Linked DNA regions of Homo sapiens: region 1 is linked to region 2. Evidence: promoter capture Hi-C in 16 types of primary human blood cells and fetal thymus (Javierre and others, 2016). All regions are on one chromosome and are shown on one strand. Each heading gives the region's core, a stretch centred on a gene start or on the middle of the fragment in contact. The rest is flanking DNA. Distances are from core to core; before and after follow the strand shown.

Region 1 (4,576 bases), core at 820-3,319, 490 kb after region 2:
TCACAATGCCCAACACAGAGTAGAAAATAAATAGATCATCATGGTATAAATGAATAGTGCATTAGTCAGGAAAGACTTCATAAAGGAGGCAGGATTTTAGTTGTGCTTTGAAGAATATGGAAGACTCAAATAGGTCCTGAGAAAGGAGATGGCAGTTGAAGCAGAGAGAACTTTATGAGCCAAGCAAGCAGGATGCAATGGTGTTGGGTCACCCAGGTCTGTATAGGGAACGAAATGCATCTCAACCCCTGCTTCATACCATACAGAAAAAAAAAAATCAATTCCAGATGGATTACAGATCTCAATGAAAAAGGAAAACAGTCACACTTTGTCCAGACCTCTATCAGCAATACTCTCTAGTTTCCAGGAACTTACACTCTCGCTGGGGAGACAGGTGAATGGGAACAATTGGAGACAGGAAAATCCGGTGAATCGTAAGGCGCTAGACTATGGCGTGCAGCCTTACCAAGATAAATCCCAGTAGTGAAAGACAGGTATTTAATATGTCTTATCTAAAATGCAGCTGCATGAAAAATGCATCAGAAATTCAAGGATAGAATTCTAACAAGGGAGAATTTTAATAATAATTCAATATTAAAATAACTCAACAATAATAAGTAACATTTACAGAGTTCTTAGTATGTATCAGGCACTTCTCTAAGCATCACACCAAATTAACTCATTTGACCTTCACACAACACTAGGAGGATTATTCTTTTCTTATCTCCATATCACAGATGAGGACACCAGGGCAACAAGAGGTTAAGTAATTCAAGGACATTGTCACTCAAGGGACACGAGATCTGGAGTCAGATGACATAAGTTTCTGAGTTGAGGGTCTTTGGGGCAAATGATTTTACTTTTCTGAGCTCTGGATTTGAAAAATAGGAGAGATAAACACTCCATCTACCACGTGTGTGGTTGAATAATATTATGTGAGGAATAAATAAGAGAATGTTTGAACATAGACACACTTTCATACCTTGACATGCAGTACATCTGTGAGTTCTTTCTTTTTTTAACTAACACAATTTTTTTAACTAACACTATTTTTTTTAACTAACACTATTGTGACATTATTTCTTTGGAAAGCAGAAAGCTAAATCAGACTGTTCCACAAATATTTACTGAGCACCTGCTACATGCCAGTCATGGGTCTATACTCTGGTGCTGCAACAGTGAGCAGAGCAAAGCCCCGCCCTCGTGGATCGTCCATTCTAATGGGACTAACAGTAAACATAAAAATAAATAAAAATGTGATAGTGGTAAGATGAATGCAGGGTACGTGATAAGAAGAAAATTAACCCAGCTGGGGGAACAGAGAATGATGGTCATATCATTTTTGTCCTGAATAAGTGAGGAGCCCATCATGCGGATGCAAAACAAGAGCATTCTAGACAGGGGAGCCATGGTGCAAGAGGCCCAGAGGGGAAGTCTGCTTGTTGTATGGAAAGAGAAATCAGGAATCCAGTGTGGCTGAGCAGTCAGATTGTGGAAAGCGGCAGTTGAGCGTAGCAGTCATCACAGACTAAACCAAGAAGGGCCCTGCAGGTGTGGTACCCATGAGATACAGGAAATCCAACCACTGGGCAGTAGTTTGTGCAGTTTGTTCACTAGTCTTATCTGTGAGATTCCTGCCAATCACTACAAACCTTGTACACACACTTGCCCTCCCAACCAAATCAGATGCAGCCTTATAGGCTGTAGTGGACATATGGCTGCGAATACCTTCATTCAATTCATTTATTCTCCAGACATTTACTGGGCACCTGGTGCAAGCCAAAGCCCTGGATGGGCAGTGGAGGTACATTGTGAACAAAATACACATAGTCCGTTCTCCAAGAGCAGACCTCTGCTAGAGAGGGAGATAGGAAGTAAACTGCATCACAGTGACAGAGGCCCTTGTCATCTGGCACCGCTCAAGAGATGAGGCAAGGACAAGGGAAGCTTGGAAAGGCGAAATGCATTCTTCCCCCAGACTCCGAAGCTTCTTTCTCCATGTGCAGTAAGTCCACGGACATAAGCCATTATGTCAGTACTGCCAATTCCAGATCTCAGCTAGTAACGAGCAAATGGATCGTTGCAAACCACAGAAAATCCCCAAACCTCCTTTGAGTCAATAGGTGTGTTCTCTTCCCTCCACAAGCTTTTCAGTAACTACGCTAAGCCCAGCAAAATTGATTATGGCATCACAGGCCTCACCACTTGCTGCTCCCACCACCCTGCCTGCTCTCTGTGGATGTGCTGACCCGGGGCTGGATGGTGCTTGGGTGCATCGGAAACATGAGAGGGTGGACAGGCTGCCTCTGCCTCTGCCTCAGGATACAATGATGAATGCAGCAGCTCTTCAAGGGGCTTTCACACCAGTGGAGGAGACAGGCAAGGAAGCAGGCCACAGGCCTTTCAATGTAGTCCAGGAATGTCGCCATACCAAAGAGTGCGGGGTGCCATGGGAACCAGAAGGAGCTGCCGGCTCAGGATTTGGGGTGATGTGGGGGAAGGGACAGTCTTCAAGGAAGCCTTCCTCAAGGAAATGATGTGTAAACTGAGCACTAAGGCATCAATAGGGAGTATCCAGGGGTGGGCAGAGAGGAGAAGTGATAGAGAAGTGAGTTGGGAAGGACAGCCAGGAAGCACGTGGCAAACGTCCAGAGATAGGAGAGAGCGTGGTGGGTCCTGGGACTTACAACAGGATGTAGTTTCTGAAGATCAAAGCAGCTGTCGAATTGTGGTGGACCCTGTTGACCTTGTCAAAGAGTTTGGACGTCATCCTGTAGGAATGGGGAGGCACTGAGGAGAGGCAGCTCCGATTTCACCTTTTGTAAATCACAGTGACTACAGAGTGGAAGTAATCAGTGGTAGGGAAGAGGGAAGCAGGGGAGCCACTTGGGGGTTGGAGGGTGTTCTGAGAGTGCAGGGAACGGTTGGTAGGGGTCCAGATTCAAGACATGTTAAAGAATTGGCGATTTGCTGGGAGTGGAGATGAAGAGGTAGAAATCAAGGATGACTCCAAGGTTTGCAGCTTGGGAAATGGGCTGGAGGAAGGCATGATTTATTATTGAGCCAGCATAAGAGGATGGGGGAAATGGACACTAAGTTCAGGTTGAGGTTCAGATATCTGTGGGATATTCACGGGGGGACAGCCAGCGCACCAAGAACTCAAGGGAAAGAAGACAGGACTGGGTTGTATATAAAGACTTGTGGGTCATCAGTATGTAAGTGAAAACGGAAGCCAGAGATGAGATTTCTGAGGAACATATGTAGAATGAAAAGAGAAGACAGCCAAAGAGAGAGCCCCAGAAACACCAAATGTACAAGATAATCAGAGGAAGAGGACCTTGCAAAGGAGTCTGAAAATGAACAGGAAGAAAACCAAGCAACCTTGAGGACCCAGACGCCAAGGGAAGACGGCACATCAAGAAAGAAGCCAGGTGGTCAGATTACTCAAATCATGTCAACGGTGCATAGCAAAAGCTGTAGGGGCATGTGTAGATGCTGACTGTAGGGACATGTATAGAAATGCCTCCCACACTAGCACTTGAGGGAGAAAGGTATTAGAAACCTTTGCATTTTGCTTTTTCATTACTCCCTGCTGTGCATGAAAGTACAGGTGTGAAATCCAAGATTCATTTACTGCAGTGTTCCCCAAAGAGTGATCCAAAGATTGTAGCCCCGTGAGATGAAAGACACACATGCACACACACACACACACACACACACACACACACAGAGAGCCTGTAATGAAATGAACTTTTGGAAACATTGAGCACTATATTCCCACATTAGAGTTTGACAATGCAGTTAGCATAGTAAAGGCACAGAAAAGCCCTGAGGTAAGGAAACCTATTTAACCTCCCCTTGTTCAGCATTTCCCAAACTTACTTGCCAGTGGAACCCCTTTATTTTGTATCTCCTCTTAGCATCTCCTGGGGCTGGAATCAGCAGAATGAACTTTGGAAATCACAGCATTAGCGGGAAAGGATGTGTCTAATGGATGAAATACCTGCAGCCGGTAAACCACTGGTAAAAAGCATCCTCTCCCAAGCTTAGGACAAAAGACTTCTTTGGTCTGGGTTCTCTCATTCATTCATTGAGCTAAAACATATCAGGCATCTGCTAAGTGGTAGCAAGCTGGAAGGTGGTGGAGGGGGTATGTTTGGGAAAGTGAGGATTGAGGAGCGTGGGAAGCACATTCTTTGGACATGTGTTGTGTGCTCGTGGTGGAGCGTATGACCAGCCAAATAACCAGGCGGATGCTGGCCAAGTGAGAGGGTTGTGGGAAGAGGCATAACCAGGAGGTGGCCTCTCTCCTCCAAGAAGTTATGAGATTTCCAGGGACGATAAACTATGAATGTACGGAAGATATTGGCTGGTAAAAACAATGAAGAAAACTAGTAAGGATCTCAGGGACTTAGGAGGCTAGAGTCTTTTACTCCAGGCAGAGTAGAAGATTATTCTCAATGTGGTTGTAGTCAATACCATTTATTAAGCATCTACTATGTGCCAGGCACCTTATGTTATACTAATATAGTAATGGCTGACATTTAATGAATCCCTACTATGCATAAAGTACTCT
Region 2 (4,925 bases), core at 1,248-3,747:
CCAGAATCCTAACCAGCCTGACAGTGCGCCCTCCTGCCCTGGCCCAGCCCTGGCTCTGCCTGGAGATGGTGCTGTACTGAGCTCATGCCCAGCCCCCATGGGCAGGGGCCTTCACACCTTAGGACACAGGGGTGCCCCCCACGCACATGTCAGGGAGGTACCTGCCTACTGCTACAGGCCCCCTTAGGGAGCACACGCCAGAGAGCATGGGGCATCTACGTGCTTGAGACATGCGTGAGGGGCCACACAGGTAGGCACCACACACATGCCACCTGTCATTGCCTGGACTTCAGTGCACAGGCACACCTGGCCCCGACACACCAGCGTGTCACCATGAGAAGAGGAGAAACCCGCTCTCGGCGCCCCCCACAGTGCTGGGCCTTCGCACACGTTGTTTCCCGTTCATCAAGAAGGGGCGAATTTTTTTCATTCGACAGATGGAAGAAGCACCGCTCAGAAGTCAGGGAATCTGCCCAGGTTCCTACAACTAAAAGGGAGCCAGGTAGGGCTGAAAACCGGCGGTCACGGCAAAGCCCGGGCGCGGGGCCCTGTCCCATCCCAGCCAATCCATAAGCATCTCACACTTCACACCCGCTGCACACTCCACTCACACGCCTCACACTCCACACATGCCTCACGCTCCACACACACCTCACACTCCACACACGTCTCACACTACACACACGCTTCACACTCCACACATGCTTCACACTACATACACCTTACACTACACACACACCTCACACTATGCACACACCTCACACTAAACACATGCCTCATATTCCACACATACTGTGAGCATGCACACACACACACACACAGCTGCACACACCTCTCATGCTCCATACACACCTCACACCATACGTACCTCAAAGACACACACACCTTACACTGCACATTCCCAGCACCCACACTGCACACACATGCACAGTCCATATGCCCACACAACACACTTCACACACCCCCCACCCCACACCATACAAACCTCACAGACACACCTCTCACACAAATCTTATACCCCACACACAATCCCTACGCTCCACACACACACACACACACACACACGCACATTCTACACATACATAATCTACACACACAAATTCCAGACTGTCTCTCTTACACACACACTCTGGGACCCATATGCCCACAGCACACAGCATCTCAGGCGTGCACCCCGCATTCTGGCCTCAGGATGTAGACTCGCTGAAAGTCAGCCTTGTCTGAGACAGACGCCCGCTGCCCTGCACGCACCCTAGAAAGCCCTGGCTCCCATCCGGCACTTCGGCACGCATATGGCTCAAACCCATCTCCACAGCAACGCTGTTCCATAGAACAACAACGCAGGTCACACTTGTGACTTAACCTGTCTAATATCCACATGCAACAAGGGGTGTGGTGGCCCGCGCCTGTAATCCCAGCTACTTGGGAGGCTGAAGCAGGAGGATCATGTGGGCCCAGGAGCTCCAGACCAGCCTGGCAACCTAATGAGACCCTGTCTCTGAAAAAAAAAAAAACAAGAGAGCCAGAAGAAAATTGCTTTTAATAATACATTTTATTTATCCCATGATCACCAGTGTTATTTCAACATAAAATCAATATAAAAATTGTTATCGCGTTGGTTGACATCCTGTTTGCACTTGGCCTTGGAAACCTGGTGTGCGTCTCCCCCGTGCAGCTTTTCTCAGTTCAGACTGACTCAAGAGCCACGGGTGACCAGCGGCTACCGTCATGGACAGCACAGCGCTACGGAACCAGGTAGGAATTCATGCTGCGTGCGGTCGCTCATGCCTGTAATCCTAGCGTTTTGGGAGGTCGAGGTGGGTGGAATCACTTGAGGTCAGGAGTTCGAGACCAGCCTGGCTAACATGGTGAAACCCCATCTCTTCTAAAATTATGAAAATTAGCCGGGCATGGTGGTGGGCGCTGTAATCCCAGCTACCTGGGAGGCTGAGGCAGGAGAATTGCTTGAACCCGGGAGGCGGAGGTTGCAGTGAGCCGAAATCACACCACTGCACTCTAGCCTGGGTGACGGAGTGAGACTCCATCTTAAAAAAAAAAAAAAAAAAAAAAAAGAACGAGGTAGGAATTCAAATAATTCCCAGCTAAACAGAAAATAGCATCAAACCCCACCCCTGCCTCCCCTTTCTCCTCTCCAGTCCCCAGAGTATATGGGCCCAGCCTCCTTTTCTCTCTCTCAGGCCAGCAGCTCCTTTAGTCTCGCCTGTCCAGGTAAGCACCTGGACTCACCCTTGTGAGCCCCTGCACTCACCTGCACCGGCCTCTGCACAGTCCCCAGTCCTTGGCTGTCCCTACCTCATGCTCTCGGGGACCAGGGGCTGTAACCAGGCAGGCATGTCACCAGGCAACGGGCCTCGGGGGAGAGCTCAGATCTCCCGCACCTGCCTGCCAGCCTCTGGGGTGCCCATGCGGGGGTGGGGGAAGATGGGGCGGGGCAGGCACTGCCTTCTCCTACCTCCTGCCTGTTTACCTGTACTTAGTCACAGTGCTGTCCAGGACCCAGCAGGAGGAGTTCCATGGAGCCTGAGGCCACAGGCCACAGGGGACAAGGGCCAGACACCCTGGTCATGGCTCTAGGCCATTGATCCAGCCTGGGCTGGCTGGGTGGGGGTGGGGAGGCCTTGGCCTGGACAAACAGAGGCTCCTGAGGCCTGTGTGCAGGCCCGGCACCTATCTGCCGCTCCCAAAGGTAAGCGGGGGCCTCCAGGACAGGGGACCGGGATCTATAAATGACCTAGTGACAGTGTCCACCCTAAGAGCTGGGCCTGGCTCCCTGCAGCCTGAGCCACCTACCCTGCTCCGAGGCCAGGCCTGCAGGGCCTCATCGGCCAGAGGGTGATCAGTGAGCAGAAGGTGAGGGGCCCACAGAGCTGGGGAGGGGAGGGACCACGCAGGGTGACACCAGGTGTGTGGACAGGCACAGCATCAGTGCTGGGTGGTTGGTGGCCTGGGATTCAGGTGGCAGGGACAGGAGGAAGGGAGAGGCCACCCTACCCCTGCCTCGCAGGACTGGACATGCTGCCCCCTCCACACCCGGTACCCCACCTGGGCCTTCTGGTGTAGGAGACAGGCCCGGAGCCCCACATTGCACCTATGTACTGACTTAAGCCCAGGACCCTGGGCTCACAGGCTCAGAGTTGGCATGTATGTGTATGTGTGTTCGTGTGTGTGTCTGTGTAGGAAGGGCGTGCATCTATGAATTTTTGTGTCATGAATAGATGTGCGTATATCCCTCCGCGTGTCTCCATCTGTGTACATCTGTGGGTCTGTGAGTGTGTTTATATGTGTGGAAGGGACCCCCACCCAGTCCCCCACACTCTCAGGACTCTAGGGCCTAATGGTTTCACTGAAAGATGCCCCTATGGCCCTAGCCCAGAGTCCCTGCTCTGCTCTGCTCTGCCCTGGCTGAGGGACCTCGGGTAAGTCATGTTACCTCTCTCTACCTCAGTTTCCCCAGCCATTAAATAGAGTCAGCAAAGTAGGCACCCCAGGCTGTTGGAGGCTGCAGTGGAGTTTGCAGCACTGCCCAGCACAGGGCTGGCACATGGTAGGAGTTCATACGCAGTGGTTGAATCCGGATCTGCATTGCTGGGGGAGTCGCGGCCCCGCCCCAAGGAGCTCAGCCTCCAGCAGGCAGACCCGAGACCCTCCAATGGCCAGAAGGGCAGGAGGGAGTGAGGAGCAGGTGCCAGGGTGGGGTCCATGGTGCTCAGAGCTGGGGGACTGCTTCAGGCCCCTGTGGCAATTGGAGCACAGTCCCCGCTTCCAGGAGTTCAATGTGAGGGGCAAAGAGAGAGTGCCCACAGGTAAGCTGCACATCGCGAGGGGCAGCCGCCCCTTCTAGGGCACTCTGGGAGAGCTGCGAAGAGGTGAGGTCTGAACTGAGGTGACAGGGGCTGCATAAGAGCTGGCCAGGTTGGGAGGTGGGGGCCCAGGCAGAAGGAAGAGTGTGGGGACGCCTGGCCGTGAACAAGCACTGACAGGGCTCAAGGTCCACGAGGGCTCTTGGTGCCGGCTGGCTGCTCTTAATCCATAAATGTTTGCTACCATCCCATTGTTAAAATTTCTCACCAATGGAAGTCCAGTGTCCTTGGGGTGCGACGGGGAAAAGAGAGGGTGGGAAAAAAGGAGGCAGGAGAAGTTGGCCAGGCCACATATGCACACAGCACCTTGGACTTCTGTAGGGAGGAAGGAGCTGGGACCTTGTCATTCATTCATTTAACAATTACTGAGTGTCCGCTGAGTACCAGACTCTGCTCTCATGCAGCTTACAGACAGGGAGGAGGCAGATAAATGACATATTTGCATATCAGGCAATTTAGGCCTCTGTAATTGCTATAAAGAAAAATGCAGGAGAGACGGGAGTGCCCAGGGAAGGCCTCTCTGGAGAGGTGACATCTGACCCTTTGGAGGAGGTAAAGGAGGGAGCCACGAGGCCAGCAGAAAGGAAAACATCCCAGGCCCAGCAAGGAGCAAACCTCCCATTCAGCAAAGAGGACAGGAAAACTGAGACCCTGGGTCTTTAGGGACTGTGTTCTAGGTGGATGGAAGCCGTGCGAGGCTTGTGGGCAGGGCACATGGTGACAACACGCAGTGGCCATTGTGTGAGAACTCACTGGGTAGGGGGGTGGGTGATTGGCTATTGCAGGAGTCGAGGTGACAGATGACGGTGGCCTGGATGATGGTGGGAGTCATGGGGGGCCAAGAAGGGGCTGGCTTTGGGGGGCATTTGGAAGGTAGGGCCACAGGCTTTTCCAAAGGTGCTGGACCCTGGGAATGGGGGAGCCGTTGTATTATAAGATAGTAAAGACAAGAGTGGCACCGTCATCTTCACAACTGTCCACTGCCCCTCCTCCTGCTGGGCAGGAAACCCAAGAGGATGGGAATGAGGTCTCTTAGAGTCACCA

Evidence for each region. The method cuts DNA at HindIII sites, captures the fragments that hold promoters and counts their contacts. A CHiCAGO score of 5 or more calls a contact.
Region 1: a contact is called between a fragment that was not itself captured here and the fragment with the promoter of TMPRSS6 in region 2, in 1 of 17 cell types (M1 macrophages). The highest score is 5.1, in M1 macrophages.

The regions. Positions count from the first base shown.
Region 1 is chr22:36,612,310-36,616,885 of GRCh38, reverse strand. The region is part of intron 1 of CACNG2 (calcium voltage-gated channel auxiliary subunit gamma 2); the gene reads left to right. Among named protein-coding and RNA genes, the nearest start is that of EIF3D, 85 kb to the right of the region's middle. The HindIII fragment of the contact is 159 bases long and covers 1,990-2,148 here.
Region 2 is chr22:37,107,285-37,112,209 of GRCh38, reverse strand. TMPRSS6 (transmembrane serine protease 6) reads left to right here and starts at 2,497. Exons shown (of 18, transcript NM_001374504.1): 1 at 2,497-2,707. RefSeq lists an enhancer at 3,766-4,267. The HindIII fragment of the contact is 29,267 bases long and covers 1-4,925 here.